Linked DNA regions of Homo sapiens: all the other regions are linked to region 4. The links are contacts of gene promoters, found by promoter capture Hi-C in human tissues and cell types (Jung and others, 2019). All regions are on one chromosome and are shown on one strand. The core of a region is centred on a gene start or on the middle of the fragment in contact, and the rest is flanking DNA. Distances in the headings are between cores, read along the strand shown. Region 1 has its middle 150 kb from the start of CT66. Region 2 overlaps AUTS2 (activator of transcription and developmental regulator AUTS2). Region 3 overlaps AUTS2 (activator of transcription and developmental regulator AUTS2). Region 4 holds the start of AUTS2 (activator of transcription and developmental regulator AUTS2).

Region 1 (3,271 bases), core at 432-2,931, 150 kb after region 4:
TCTCACTATGTTGCCCAGGCTGGTCTTGATGTCCTGGCCTCAAGCGATCCTCCCGCTTTGGCCTTCCAAGGCGCTGGGATTATAGACATGAGCCACTGCCCTGGCCTCTCAATCGATTTCTGAGTGCCCTGATTCCAGCTCCAGCACTCTCTTTATTCCTCGGGGGAGAAACTTGGCACTTGTTATTCCTATGCCTTCTACACCCCATATTCAGACAACCACCAAGTCATTGTCCTTCCCTACAACTGCTCTTTGAAGACTCCCAGCTGTGTCTGTTCCCACAGTCATAAGTCAGGATCCGTCTGTCCCCGTCACGCTGATTGCTGTAGTGTCTGTCCTGACTGTCCTCTCTGCTGCCTCTTACCTTCTCCAGTCACCCAGCCCATAGAATGGAGTCCCCATCACCATTCTGATCACGCCCTTGCTCTGTTTAAGATTCTGCAGCGGGGCCTGCTTCTTATCAGATCATTCCAGGCTCCCTGTTCTTTTATCAGCCATCGTACTTATGCCCCACTGCTGCGCAGGGCAGACCTGGTGCTGCTCAGGCCGAAGCCTCTCTGTTCTTGTTACAGCAAGGCCACGTTCGTGCGTTTGCCGGTGCAGAGCAGTTTTGTTGGTCAGACCTACTGACAAAACCCTCCCGGATCATTTCTGGAACACGTCTCCTCCTACTGATTTGAGTCACCTCCTGGGGGAATTTTAAAATTTGAATCAGGAGCACAGAGGGAGAGAGGGAGAGGTCTGGAAGTCACAGTTCTAGCAAAGATGAGTCTGGGCAGATAGAAGTTGGAATCCAAGGTCTTTCTTTGAACACACAGTTCTGAGAGGTGGAGGTGGGGATGACATCAAAATCACAGGCCAAGTGAGAGGGAAGCACTGAGCTGACCTGATGGTTTTGGCATGACTTGGGCAAACGAGCGAGTGGGATTAGCACAGCCGATGAATGCAGTTAAATGCTGTGCACTGTGAAACACACACGGGCATGCAGGTGGCCTTGGAGAGGTGATGAAAATTTGTCACTTGAAAAAAAAACAACAGCCAGGCGTGGTGGTGGCTCATGCCTGTAATCCCAGTACTTTGGGAAGCCAAGGCAGAAGGATCACTTGAGCCCAGGAGTTCGAAACCAACCTGGGCAACAAAGTGAGACCTCATCTCTATAAAAAATTTAAAAAATTATCTGGGCATGGTGACATGCACTATGAGTCCAAGCTACTCAGGAGGCTGAGGCGTGAGGATTGCTTGAGCTCAGGAATTTGAGGCTGCAGTGAGCCGAGATTGCGTCACTGCACTTCAGCCTGGATGACAGAGCAAGACTCTGCCTTAAAAAAAAAACAAAAAAAAAAAACCCAAAAAACCCCCCAAAAAATTAATCCCCAATGTTGGAGGTGGGTCCTGGCAGAAGGTGTTTGGGTGTTTGGATCATGGGGGGCAATCCTTCATGAATGGTTTGGTGCCCTCCTTAAGGTAATAAATGAGTTCTCAGTCCACTAGTTCCCTAGAGATCTGATTGTTTAAAAGAATCTAAGAGGCTAGGCATGGTGGCTCACGCCTGTAATACCAACACATTGGGAGGCTGAGGCTGGAGGATTGCTTGAGCCCAGAAATCCAAGACCAGCCTGAGCAACATGGCAAGATCCTGTCTCCACACAAAAAAATTTTTAAAATTAGCCAGGGAGGGTCATGCAGGCCTATAGTCCCAGATACTTAGGAGGCTGAGGCAGGAGGATCACTTCAGCCCAGGAGGTCAAAGCTAGAGTAACCATGTTCACACCACCTTGCTCCAGCCTGGGTGACGAGTGAGATCCAGTCTGAACGAAAAAACCATAAGTGTCTGGCACCTCCTCCCGCCTCTCTCTTGCTCCCTCTCTCGTCTCATCATGTGACACACTGGCTCCCCTTTGCCTTCCACCATGACTGGAAGCTTCCTGAGGTCCTCACTAGAAGCAGATGCTGGCACCATGCTTCTGTACAGCCTGCAGAACCGTGAGCCAAATAAACCTCTTTTCTTTATAAATTACCCAGCCTCAGGTATTCCTTTACAGCAATGCAAAATGGACAAAGACACCCCTGCTTCTATCATACAATTGTGATAACTAATTGAGATACCTATAAAGTACTTAACATAGTGCCTAGAACCTAGTAAATAATAAATGTTTGCTCTTATTAAATTTTAATTATTATAGGTCATTTAGAAACCATGCACTATAAAGTATTTAGAAAGAACTTGGTAGTAATTTTTGGAAAAAACATTTTCTCCAAGCACTGTTTAAAACAGCTCAACTTGGGCCAGGTGAGGTGGCCATGCCTGTAATCCCAGCACTTTGGGAGGCCAAGGTAGGCAGATCACTTGAGGGCAGGAGTTCAAGACCAGCCTGGGCAATATGACAAAACCTCATCTCTACTAAAAATACAAAAATTAGCTGGGCGTGGTGGCATGTCCCTGTAATCTCAGCTACTCGGGGGGCTGAGGCATGAGGATTGCTTGAGCCCAGGAGGCAGAGGTTGCAGTGAGCCCAGATTGCGCCACTGCACTCCAGCCTGGGAGACAGAGTGAGACTCTATCAAATAAATAAAACAGCTCAACTTAACTTAGGTAAAGGACCTAAGTAACTTCAAGAAATTTGTTTCCAGTCTCAGATATTTGCCTCCTCTGTGCAAAGAATGAATATTTGCTGGAAACCTGTAGAGACCACTGGCTGGCAGCTGTTCTGACAGACGGTGAAGAGGTTGGGGGCAGGGTGAGGGACACAGCCAGGTTGGCATTTTGACTCAAAGGCCACGCTCCTACCTGAAGCCAACTTATTTCTCTGAAGCTTTTGGTTCTAGCTTGGTCTTTATCTACACCCAGGATTTAAAAAAAAAAATGAGAAATTAAGAGTTATTTATAACTCACCTGTTTTGCTTCAGCTTTAGAAATAGTAACGGTTAGTGGTTTAGGCTTTTTTTCTCTTTTCTTCTTTTTCTTTTTTAGAGACAGAGTCTCACTCTGTCACCCAGGCTGGCATGCAGTGGTGTGAGTAAGTTAGCAACTGGTATGACCACAGAGTTCATACTGTTATGGACAAAATTATGTCCTCTCCCCAAATCTATATGCTGAGGTCCTAACCCCCAGTACCTCACAATGTGACTGTATCTGGGGATCGAATCTCTAAAGAGGTGATTAAGTTAAAAATGGGGCCATAGGGTGAGTCCTAATCCAATCTGACTGGTGTTTTTATAAGAAGAGAAGATTTGGACACGGAGACACTGGGGGCACTCGCCCACAGAGGAA
Region 2 (3,444 bases), core at 244-2,743, 190 kb before region 4:
AGTTCTAAGAGAATGTTAACAGAAACAACAGGGACTTACTTAAATTAATAACAGGGAATATCAGCATTCTAGGACTACCCCTTTGAGAAATCCAGCTAAGATAATTAACGTTAAAGATCATCTAACGCACTGATTCACACTTAGCTAACCTTTGGAATCAGTTTTACAAAATATTGATACTTGGGGCTCACCATCAGAGATTCTGACTGAATTGGTCTGGATGCAGCCTGGGCATACATTTTTTTTAAGTGCCCCCACGTAATTCTGATGTGCATTGAAGTTTGAGAGCCATTGCTGAATGGAAATTGTCCACACAAGCAAACCCAAAAAGCTTAGCTGCACTCTGTCAAAGTGGCCTTAAATGCTGCATTCTTGATATAAGGTAAACACCAAAAAGTCACCCACACTAGGAGTTCTGCATCTGCTTGAAAACTTGTTGATGGCATTAAACATTAATTTCTTTAATACTCCTTGCCTAAAGACTTGCATAAATTCCTTCTATAATTGGGTTTTAAGAAAGACTTTACATCTTCTTAGAAACCTGATATGTTTCCTGTTGTTGGAAAACAAAAACCAAGTGTCCTATCGTTTCCCTTATAACTCAGAGTGCTAGACGCGTCAGAGCTGAACCGGACAGCTAATCAGAGTATTTGTTCCCCAGTGTATTTGATTCTTATTCTGTCTATGCAAGTTTTGATTATTCTTTTTTTAAGGGGCATAGAAGTGTCTTTTTTTTTTTTTAATTTTGCTTCAAGGCCACTGGAGGAATAGACAAATGCAGAATTATGAATAATGGTCAAGTAATGAAGGCTGACTTTTAGGGAATCTTCTCTGTTAATTTCTCAGACTTTCTACTTACTTAGATGCTTCTGTTCTTGAAGAGCTGCACAAAAACCAAGTGCCCTTCAGGTTAAACTGTATTCAAACAATACCAGAGGAACGCTACTGTAAGGACTTTAGAAAAGTGAATAATCACTTTCATTTATTTCCCTGGATTTGGGCTTTTGTGCATAAAGTTTCTTTAGATTGAAGCCTGCCCAGACTTCACAAACTCCAAGTGTAATCTCTGACACCATGCTGCTGCCCTTCCCCTGAAGCCTCTATTTTAGTTTCCCCCAAGCCTGCTACTCTTGGCAAAGTAACTTCCACCTTCTTCCTTTGCACCCTCTTTCATAGGGCTGAATTAATGAGCCTGCAAGCTGGGGGCAATGTCTCTCCACAGCTGTCTTTTCAAGCAATTATTTAGGGACAGAGAAGGAAGTCATTAACAATCCTGGGAGTCAGCCAGAGACAACTCTGCCACACAATATACTCAGATAGGGCCCTGGGCCAAAAGGTCATTTTTTACTGGGGGCTTGAGGTGGGGTGGGGTGGGGTAACAAAGTAGTACAGAGAAGAGGATAAGAGAGCAGGTTTTTACGATATTTTTCTGGCATCTTCACCAAGAGCAATTTCTTCTGTAAAAGAAAAAGTCTAGCTGAACCAATCAGGAATTCATTCAAGGGTGATTCCAGGCAAGAGGGAAGGAATGCCAGTGAGAATAATGCCCCTCTGAAAAATCTGTCCTTAATAAAAGTTCCACTTCATTCCTAGGAGGCTGGGGAAGTAGGTAAAACTGGTGCCAAAATGTTGTAACAGCTAGGCGCAGTGGCTCAACGCCTGTAAGCCCAGCACTTTGGGAGGCCAAGGTGGGCGGATCACCTGAAGTCAGGAGTTCGAGACCAGCCCTGGCCAACATGGTGAAACCCCATCTCTAGTAAAGTTGGGGGAAACTAAAATAGAGGCTTCAAAAATTAGCTGGGTATGGTGGCACGCCTGTAATCCCAGCTTCTTGGGATTACAGCTGAGGCAGGAGAATCACTTGAACCCAGGAGGTGGAGGTTGCAGTGAGCAGAGATCATGCCACTGCACTCCAGCCTAGGCAACAGAGTGAGACTCTGTGTCAAAATAAAATAAAATAACTACTATAATAAATGCTAGTGAAGGTTATTCAAAAATATGCCTGACTAGTAAAACCAAAATGTTTTACACAAGGTGGCAGATTCCTCTTGCTCTACTCGTCTCGCCAACAAAAGACTTTAAGTGCTTTAGAGAGAAAGATCCTGATACTACTTCTGGTTAGAATTTCTCCTCTCTGGTAAAACTAGGCTATCTTTCTATGACAGAAAAAGAGTGTCTAGATTTTCCTTGTTTCTTAATAAAGACAAGTTCTAGAGTCATCTTTCTTTTCCCTTCTCCTGAAATAGACTATGTTATGTAAAGATGTTTTGAGAAACCAGTCAAACTTGGGTCTGGTCATCAGAGTGCATGTTCCTCCTCTGATTTTAGAACAACGTCAGGAGCAAATCAGTGTCTCTGTGATCTCAAGAGTCTTGGAAAACCATTAGAGAGGGAAAGCTCTGTGAGAAACATAATTGGATCAAATGCTGAAAGCCAGAAAGAGCTGAGTTCAAATTTTAGTTCTGATAGTAGGCAACGTCCTTAACCTCAGAGTTTCAGTTTACTTGCCTATAAATGATACCAAACCTCAACTGATAGGCTTGTTTTCAAACTTTTTAGAGCATGACACATAAAAATTTCTGATGTCTGCCTGCATGCACATACACTTAAAACAAGTTTTTTTGAAACAATACACACACTAAGTGTAGTATACTCTGATGTCATCTATTTGATTCTATTTTTTAAACTGAATAAAATAAAATTCTGACTGTCACCCACTAATGGATTAAGATATGCAGTTTAAAAAATCATTGTGACAGGTCAGGCACGGTGGCTCAGGCCTGTAATCCCAGCACTTTGGGAGGCCGAGGCGGGTGGATCACCTTGTGTTCAGAGTTAGTTCCTTCTGGTGGGTTCTTGATCTCGCTGACTTCAAGAATGAAGCCACAGACCTTCGTGGTGAGTGTTACAGCTCTTAAAGGTGGCACGGACCCAAAGAGTGAGTAGCAGCAAGATTTAGAGTGAAAGAACAAAGCTTCCACAGCATGGAAGAGGACCCAAGCGGGTTGCCACTGCTGGCTGGGGTGGCCAGCTTTTATTCCCTTATTTTTCCCCACCAATGTCCTACTGATTGGTCCATTTTACACAGTGCTATTGGTCCATTTTACAGAGTGCTGACTGGTGCGTTTACAATCCTTTAGCTAGACACAGAGCGCTGACTGGTGCGTTTTTACAGAGTGCTGACTGGTGCATTTACAATCCTTTAGCTAGACGCAGAGCGCTGATTGGTGCATTTTAACAGAGTGCTGATTGGTGCATTTACAATCCTTTAGCTAGACACAGAGTGCTGATTGCTGCATTTCTACAGAGTGCTGATTGGTGCATTTACAATCCTTTAGCCAGACACAGAGCACTGATTGGTGCATTTGCAATCCTCTAGCTAGACAGAAAAGTTTTGCAAGTCCCCACTCAACCCAGGAAGTCCAGCTGGCTTCACCTCTCACC
Region 3 (3,276 bases), core at 507-3,006, 250 kb before region 4:
TGAAGGTAGAGAGAACAGGCAGAACTGCTAGGGACCTTAGGATGCAAGGAACTTCAAAGTGATGAGCTGCCTGGGTCTTCTAACACACCAATAATTTCATTAAAGGTACAGTGACTAAATATACCAATTAAAATACAGATTGGTTGAATGAATAAAAAAGCATGAACTATATGCTATCCATAAACTCACTTCAAGTATAATGATAAATATATGTAAAAAGTAAAAATATGAAAAATATATACAATGAAAACAGTCAAAAGAAAACAGGAGTACCTACATGAATAAAATAAGTAGACTTCAGAACATAGAAAATTAGTAGAAACAGAGAGGGACATTAAAAATGATATGTAAGTCAATCAATCAAGCAAATATAGTAATCCCAAATGTATTTGTGGCAAAAAAATGGAGTTGTAAAGTGTGAAGCAAACACTGACAGAACTGAAAAGAGAAATAGACAAAAGGTAGTTGGAGACTAAAATGCCCCTTTATCAACAATTAATTGATAGAGCAACTAGACAGAAAATCAGCAAATGTAAAAGATTTCAACAATGCCATCAACAGGCTAGGATCTAACTGACATTTATAGCACACTACACTTAACAAAGCATAAGCCACATTTTTTTTTAAATGACCTCAGAACAAATAACATAGACCATATCCTGGGATATAATACAAACCTTAGCAAATTTAAAAGAACTGAAATCATATACAGTGTATTCTCTGACCACAATGAAAGAAAAGCAGACATAAATAACAGAAAGATAACAGGAAAATCTAAAAAAACTTGGGAACTAAAAAACACACTGGCAAATAATCTATGGGTCAAACAGGAAGCCTCAAAATAACTTAAACAATGACCTGAACTGAATGAAAATGAAATTACAACATACCAAGTTTAGGGGACACAAGCAGTACTAACGGTAAACTTTTAGCAATAAATGATAACATTAGAAAAGCAGGGGCCGGGCACGGTGGCTCACACCTATAATCCCAGCACTTTGGGAGGCTGAGATGGATGGATCATCTGAGGTCAGGAGTTCAAGACCAGCCTGGCCAACATGGTGAAACCCTGTCTCTACTAAAAATACAAAAATTAGCCGGGCATGGTGGCAGGCACCTGTAATCCCAGCTACTCAGGAGGCTGAGGCAGGAGAATCGCTTGAGCCCAGGAGGCGGAGGTTGCAGTGAGCAGAGATTGAGCCGCTGCACTCCAGCCTAGGAATCTGAATCTGAATCTCACTCCAGAGTGAGATTCTGTCTCGAAAAAAAAGAAAAGAAAACAGGGAAAGCAGACACTTTCCAATTTTTATGAAGCTACTATTACCCTAAAAATACCAGCAAAGAAAAAAAAAATCACATACTACCTCTTATAAACACAAAAGTCCTTAACAAAATATTAGTAAACAAAATTTAGCAATATATAAAAAGAATTATACATCCTGACCAAATGGGATTTATTCCAGGGATGCAAAGCTGGTTCAATATTCAAAAACCAATCAACATAATCCATCATAGTTGATGCAAAAAAGCATTCAATACATATTTATAAAAACCAAGAATAGAAAGGAATTTCCTCAGCTTCAAAGAACAACTACCCAAAAACCTACAACTAACATCAAATTTAGTAGGGAAAGACCTAATGCTTGTTCACTTCAGATTTGGAACAAGACAAGCATGTCCACTCTCACTACCACTATTCAGCATAGTACTGAAGCTCCAACCAGCATAATAAGGCAATAAAAGGAAAAGGTATATCAGAAAGTAAATAATAAAACTGTCCCTGTTTATAGATGACATGCTCGTATAGATGATATGCTTACAAAAATCCCAAAAAATCTAAATAAAAACTCCTAGAAGTCAACTCTGCAAAGTTGAAGACCAACATGCAAAAACAAATTGTATTTCAATATACTAACAATGAACACAGGAAAAGCAAAATCAAAATTACAATGTTATGTATAATGTCTCAGAAAAATGAAATATTTAGATGCAAATCTAACAAAAGATGTATAGGACCTGTATGCTAAAAACTACAAATTGCTGATGGAAAGAAATCAAAGATGATCTAAATAAAAGGAAAGGCATATAGTGTTCATGGATGGGAAAGTTCAGTATAGCAAAGATATCAAATCTCCCAAAATTGATATGCAGATTTCACATATGGGCCAGGCGCAGTGGCTTACGCCTGTAATCCTGGCACTTTGGGAGGCGAAGGTGGGGGGATTGCTTGTGTCCAGGTGTTTAAGACCAGCCTGAGCAACATGGCGAGACACTGTCTCTACAAAACATAAAAATAAAAGTATTCATCATAATTCCTATCAAAATCCCTGCAAAATTTTTGTAAATACGTTCAAGATTGTTCTAAAAATTTACATGGAAAGAAACTAGAATACCTGAAACTATTAACAAAAAAGAATACAGTAAGAGGAATCACTCTATATGATTTCAAAACTTACTAAATAGTTATACTGTAATCAATACAGTAAGGGACTGGCGAAGGGACAGACACGCAGATCAACGGACAGAATAGAGAACCTAGAAACAGTCCCACAAAACTATGGCCAACTGATATTTGACAACGATCCAAAAGCAATTCAATGTTAGAAGAAATGCCTTTTAAACAGTGTTGAAGCAATTAGATTATTCATAGGCAAAAAATAAATAAGCCTCAACCTAAACCTCATACTTACACAAAACTTAATTTAAAATGGGTCATACATTTAAATGTAAAATGTAAAGCTTAAGCTTCTGATGAAGACATAGGAGCCAATCTTCAGGACCTATGGGTTTGGTGAAGAGTTTCTTAGACATGACATCAAAAGCATACTCCATAAAATAAAATGCTGATAAATTTGACCTCACCAAAATTAAAAACCTTTGCTCTGCAAAGCATCCTGTTATAATAATGAAAAGCCAAGCTCCAGACTGAGAAAATATTTGCAAACCATACATCAGACAAGATACTGATATCTAGAATACATAAAGAACATTTCAAAACTTAACAGTAAAAGTCAAATAATCCAAAAGAATGGGCAAAAGACATGAACAGACATTTCATCAAAGAGGACATACAAATGGCAAATAAGCACATAAAAATGTCTGCCATCACTAACCATTAGGGAAATCCAAATTAATCACAATGAGATATCATTACACACCTATCAGAACAGCCATATTAAAAAACAGCAACAATTCCAAATCCTGGCAAGGATGCTGATTCCCTCATACACTGCTGCTGGGAATGTACAATGGTACAGTCACTCTGGAAAAGTCTGA
Region 4 (3,681 bases), core at 577-3,076:
GGAGTGGGGGCAGAGCTCTCTGTGGAGAGGGGGCGCATTGTTGTGATGCCCGAACCCCTTTCTTTCTGCCCATCTGCTGTGGAGGGGGTGCAGGGAGGGGGCGCAGGGGAAAGGCGAGCGAGGAAACGAGACCAGGCACGGCTTTGCGACTCCCTCCTGCTGCCTGTCTGCCCGCGCCCCCAGCTCCCCCCACCAACAATAAGACCTCAGCCTAGACAGACAGACAGACAGACAGACAGACAGACAGCCCGGAGCGCGGCGAGGGAGGCAGGAGAGCCGGGCGCAGCCGAGTGGGGTCGTGCATAAAGGGAACCCGGGGGAAGGGGGGTCCCCCTTACCTCCAGCGCTTCAAAAGTGACAAAGCTGGTCATGGCAAATCCATCAATGATGTCCTCTTCTGCCGAGGTGGACTCTCTCCGCTTCCTCCGCGGGGGTCTGGGCCGGGACGGGGCGGAGGACGGGGGCTTCCCATTGTCTTCCTTGTCGGAGCCCGACGACGAGGCGAGTGAGAGCGCCCGGGTCCGGCCAGCCCCGCCGCCGCCGGCCGCGCCGGCCCCCAGCCCGCCCCGGGAGCGCCTCTCCCGGTCTCGCTGCGACCGCGACCGCCGCTTTTTGCGGAGTCCATGGCCCCGCGTCGGGCCATCCATGGTTCTGCTGCGCCGGGGTCTCCCCGCTTGCCCGCCACAGGCTACGGCCGCAGCCACACAAAAAAAAATTGACACCGAGCCCTCCCTCCCCCTTCACGGCTTCCCTCCGCCCCGAGGAGGGCGCGGGGGAGACGGCGGCCGAAAGAAGGGAGAGAGGGGAAGAAAGAGAGGAGAAAGAAAAGGGGGAAGGGGCGGAGAGAGGGGAGGAGGGACGGGGAGCGAGGGCGAGAGGCGAGGAGCCCAAGTGTGGGGCTCCCCACAGCACCGAGGGTCGGAGATGCCTGGGAGCAGCGCCGAGCAAAGTAATGGCTGAACACACAGGTCTCCTTTAGAGGAAAAAAAAATAACTCACCAAGCAAGCAATAAATCAGAATAGCGGAATGCTTTGATCAAGAGACTGGGAGGCTCCGGGGAGCCCTCCCCGCGGCCATTCTCCGCCGCGCCCCCCGCCCCCCGAAAACGCCCGCGCCCCCCTCAACTCGATCCAAAATCGGGTCCGAAAAAGGTCGCGGGAAAAGTGGGGGCAATGAACTTCACCCGCCCCTCGCGCAGGAAAACACCCCCGCCGCCTCTCACACACGCCTCGGAGAAAACTCACTCCCAGGCTCCCAAATTTTTAAGAAATGCAGCCAGGGGAGGCCGGGGCTCCGGAGCGACCCAAGAGGGGCGAGACCCCCCAGAGAGGGGAGCATAATAATGCAATCATTAGCGGAAGAGAGGGCGAAACTGCGAGCGGCGGAGGAGAAGGGAGGCGGAGGAAGGGAAGGAGGATGCTGCTGGAGCAGTTGTGGGGTTTGCTTTTCGGTCTTCGAGGGGGGAGGAGAGGGAGATGAAAGAAGAGAAGAAGCAAACCCTGTCGCTGCCACCCGCCCCCCTCCTCACAAAAATATTTTTTCCAGTCCCAGAGAAGAGGTCACCCTTCCTCAAAAAAGGGAGGGGGTGAGTCAGTCAGTCGATGAGGAAAGCAGAAAGAAATCTCCAGCGGGAGAGACACCGGTGTGCCGCCGCCGCCGCCGCCGCTTCTCTCGCCGCCCCGCCTGAGGGAGAAGCGCAGCCGGGAACGCTGCTCTCGCCGCCGCCGCTAACGCTGCTGCTGCTGCCGCCGCCGCCGCCGAGAAAGCCCCGAGCCGGAGGGTGCACGGCGTGTCCCCGGGCGGCTGCAGCGGGAGCCCGGGCACTGCCCCATCCTCCGCCCGCCCGCCTGCCTCGCGCAGCTCCCGCTCCTCCCCCTCCGCGGCCAGCCCACCGCCGCCGCCGCCGCCGCCGCCCGCCTCAGCCCAACCCCGCGCCCGCCCGCTCGCTCGCTCGCTCGCTCGCTCGTTCGTGCTTTCGCTCGCTCGCTCGAGTGCGCGCGCTCCCGCGCACCCGCCCTCCCCGCGCCTCTCTCGGCGCGCGCTCCCGCCCCCGCGGCCCCGGCCGGCGGGATCACGTGGACGGCTGGGCTCCCTCCTCCCCCGCCCCCTCCCCAGTTGTAGAGTGTGTAGAAAGCAAAAGGCTGGGGGCTGGCCGCGCTCGCGAGCCCAGGGCATGCGCGCTGGGGCGGCCGGGCCTGCGCACTGGGGGCGGTGGGGAGCTGTGAGGGGGGCGGGGGCGGGGGCGTGGAGGGGGCGCCCGCGTGGGGTCGGCCGCGGCCGGGCAGAGTTGGCGCGCCAGGGCGTGGAAGCCGCCGGAGGATCCCGCCTGTCGCAGCGGGGACGCGTGTGGGCCCCTGCTCCCAGGCCACTTCGCGCGCGCGCCCCCCACATCCTCCTCGGGACACTTGTCCCTGGATCCTCTACCCCTGGCCGGCCCGAGGCCGCCTTCTCGGGAAGCCCCACCAGCCCCCAAGGGTGTTTTCCCTTGGCTACCTGCGCTGCGAGGAGAGAAGGGAATTCAGAGAAGGGGTACAAGGGGGGCGTCCCTGGGAGGGGGCGCGACTGGAGGAGACAGAACGGGGAGCGGGTGCCAAAGCGCGGGCCTTTGCTCCGCCTGGGCGCAGTGGGAGCACCAACTGGCAGAGTTGGAAACTTTTCCTCCACGTGGCACCACAGTGCGTGGACGAGCGACCCCGCGCCCGGATGACCCCTGGGATTCCCGCCTCGTCTTCCAGCGGGGGACCTAGGGACGCACGGGCGGCTTCAGATCCGGGAGCGCGAGGCCTAACAGCCGGGGGCCGAACTTGAACCTCGGAGGCGGCCGCGGGCGAGGGGCGGGGCCGAAGGGGCCGGGACCGCCGCCCCAGCTCGAGGACCCGTTAGACCGGCAAACCGCAGTCCCTGCCCCGCGGGCTTCCTTTACTTTTTGGGAGTGGGGGGCGGTTTCCCTGCTTTTTCCACCACAGCCCCTCCTCCCGCCGCAATGTGGCTGATGCTCATAAAAAGTTGTATTAAAGAGCTGACTGCAGCCGAGAATCGATCAACAAAAGCGACCAGCCTCTCTGGGTAAAATAGCTGTGCGTTTTTCAGGGCACTGGAATTGATCTATACGGATCAGAAAGACCGACAGCCCGCTCTCAGCAGCCTCTTGGATACGCTTCACTTTCTGTCCAGGCACATAAACACCACGGCACCAACCCTTCGTCCTCCCTAGTAGCCCATACTTGTGGAGGAAGAAAAGGAAAATAAACTGGCATGTATTAATTACAATGGGCCAGGCACCGTGCTAGAGCGCTGTGTATATGATTTCACCTCTTTAGAATACAAATGTGCACATTTTATTAGTATTACTGGAAGGAGGGTGGTAGAGAAAACAGTAAGGACGTGTTTTCTCTCACAATCTGACACATCTATGATTGAGTGATTGATTGTTTTTCATTTAACAATTATTAGGCCTTACCAGGCTTAGCAGGCACAGTTGTAGGTGCTGGGAATACAGCGTTGTACAAAACAGAAAAGATACTGCTTCTTGACGTTCTAGCAGGCAAGCCTCTCTCGTCTTATAATTCCTAATAACAATTTAATAGCTTGTCTTTCTCTTGTTTTAGGTCACACTCCTTCAGCTTCCCCGTTTCTGAATCCCAGGTCTGGATCTTTATGAAATCAGATGGAGAGATGGG

Evidence for each region. The method cuts DNA at HindIII sites, captures the fragments that hold promoters and counts their contacts. A contact is called where the count stands out against the background at its distance.
Region 1: a contact is called between a fragment that was not itself captured here and the fragment with the promoter of AUTS2 in region 4, in 1 of the 25 tissues and cell types used here (dorsolateral prefrontal cortex).
Region 2: a fragment that was not itself captured here is called in contact with the fragment with the promoter of AUTS2 in region 4 in 2 of the 25 tissues and cell types used here (dorsolateral prefrontal cortex and lymphoblastoid cells).
Region 3: a contact is called between a fragment that was not itself captured here and the fragment with the promoter of AUTS2 in region 4, in 1 of the 25 tissues and cell types used here (lymphoblastoid cells).

What each region holds. Positions count from the first base shown.
Region 1 is chr7:69,443,049-69,446,319 of GRCh38, reverse strand. No RefSeq gene overlaps it. Among named protein-coding and RNA genes, the nearest start is that of CT66, 150 kb to the left of the region's middle. The HindIII fragment of the contact is 6,974 bases long and covers 1-3,271 here.
Region 2 is chr7:69,786,068-69,789,511 of GRCh38, reverse strand. All of the region lies in intron 1 of AUTS2 (activator of transcription and developmental regulator AUTS2), which reads right to left. Among named protein-coding and RNA genes, the nearest start is that of AUTS2, 190 kb to the right of the region's middle. The HindIII fragment of the contact is 5,822 bases long and covers 1-3,444 here.
Region 3 is chr7:69,850,437-69,853,712 of GRCh38, reverse strand. All of the region lies in intron 1 of AUTS2 (activator of transcription and developmental regulator AUTS2), which reads right to left. Among named protein-coding and RNA genes, the nearest start is that of AUTS2, 250 kb to the right of the region's middle. The HindIII fragment of the contact is 5,304 bases long and covers 1-3,276 here.
Region 4 is chr7:69,596,620-69,600,300 of GRCh38, reverse strand. AUTS2 (activator of transcription and developmental regulator AUTS2) reads right to left here and starts at 1,826. Exons shown (of 19, transcript NM_015570.4): 1 at 339-1,826. The coding sequence starts at 647. It overlaps CT66 (cancer/testis associated transcript 66), which reads left to right and starts at 2,677. Exons shown (of 3, transcript NR_148927.1): 1 at 2,677-3,254; 2 at 3,610-3,646. RefSeq lists silencers at 513-582, 1,747-1,826, 1,847-2,266 and enhancers at 1,347-1,396, 2,577-2,656. The HindIII fragment of the contact is 7,960 bases long and covers 1-3,681 here.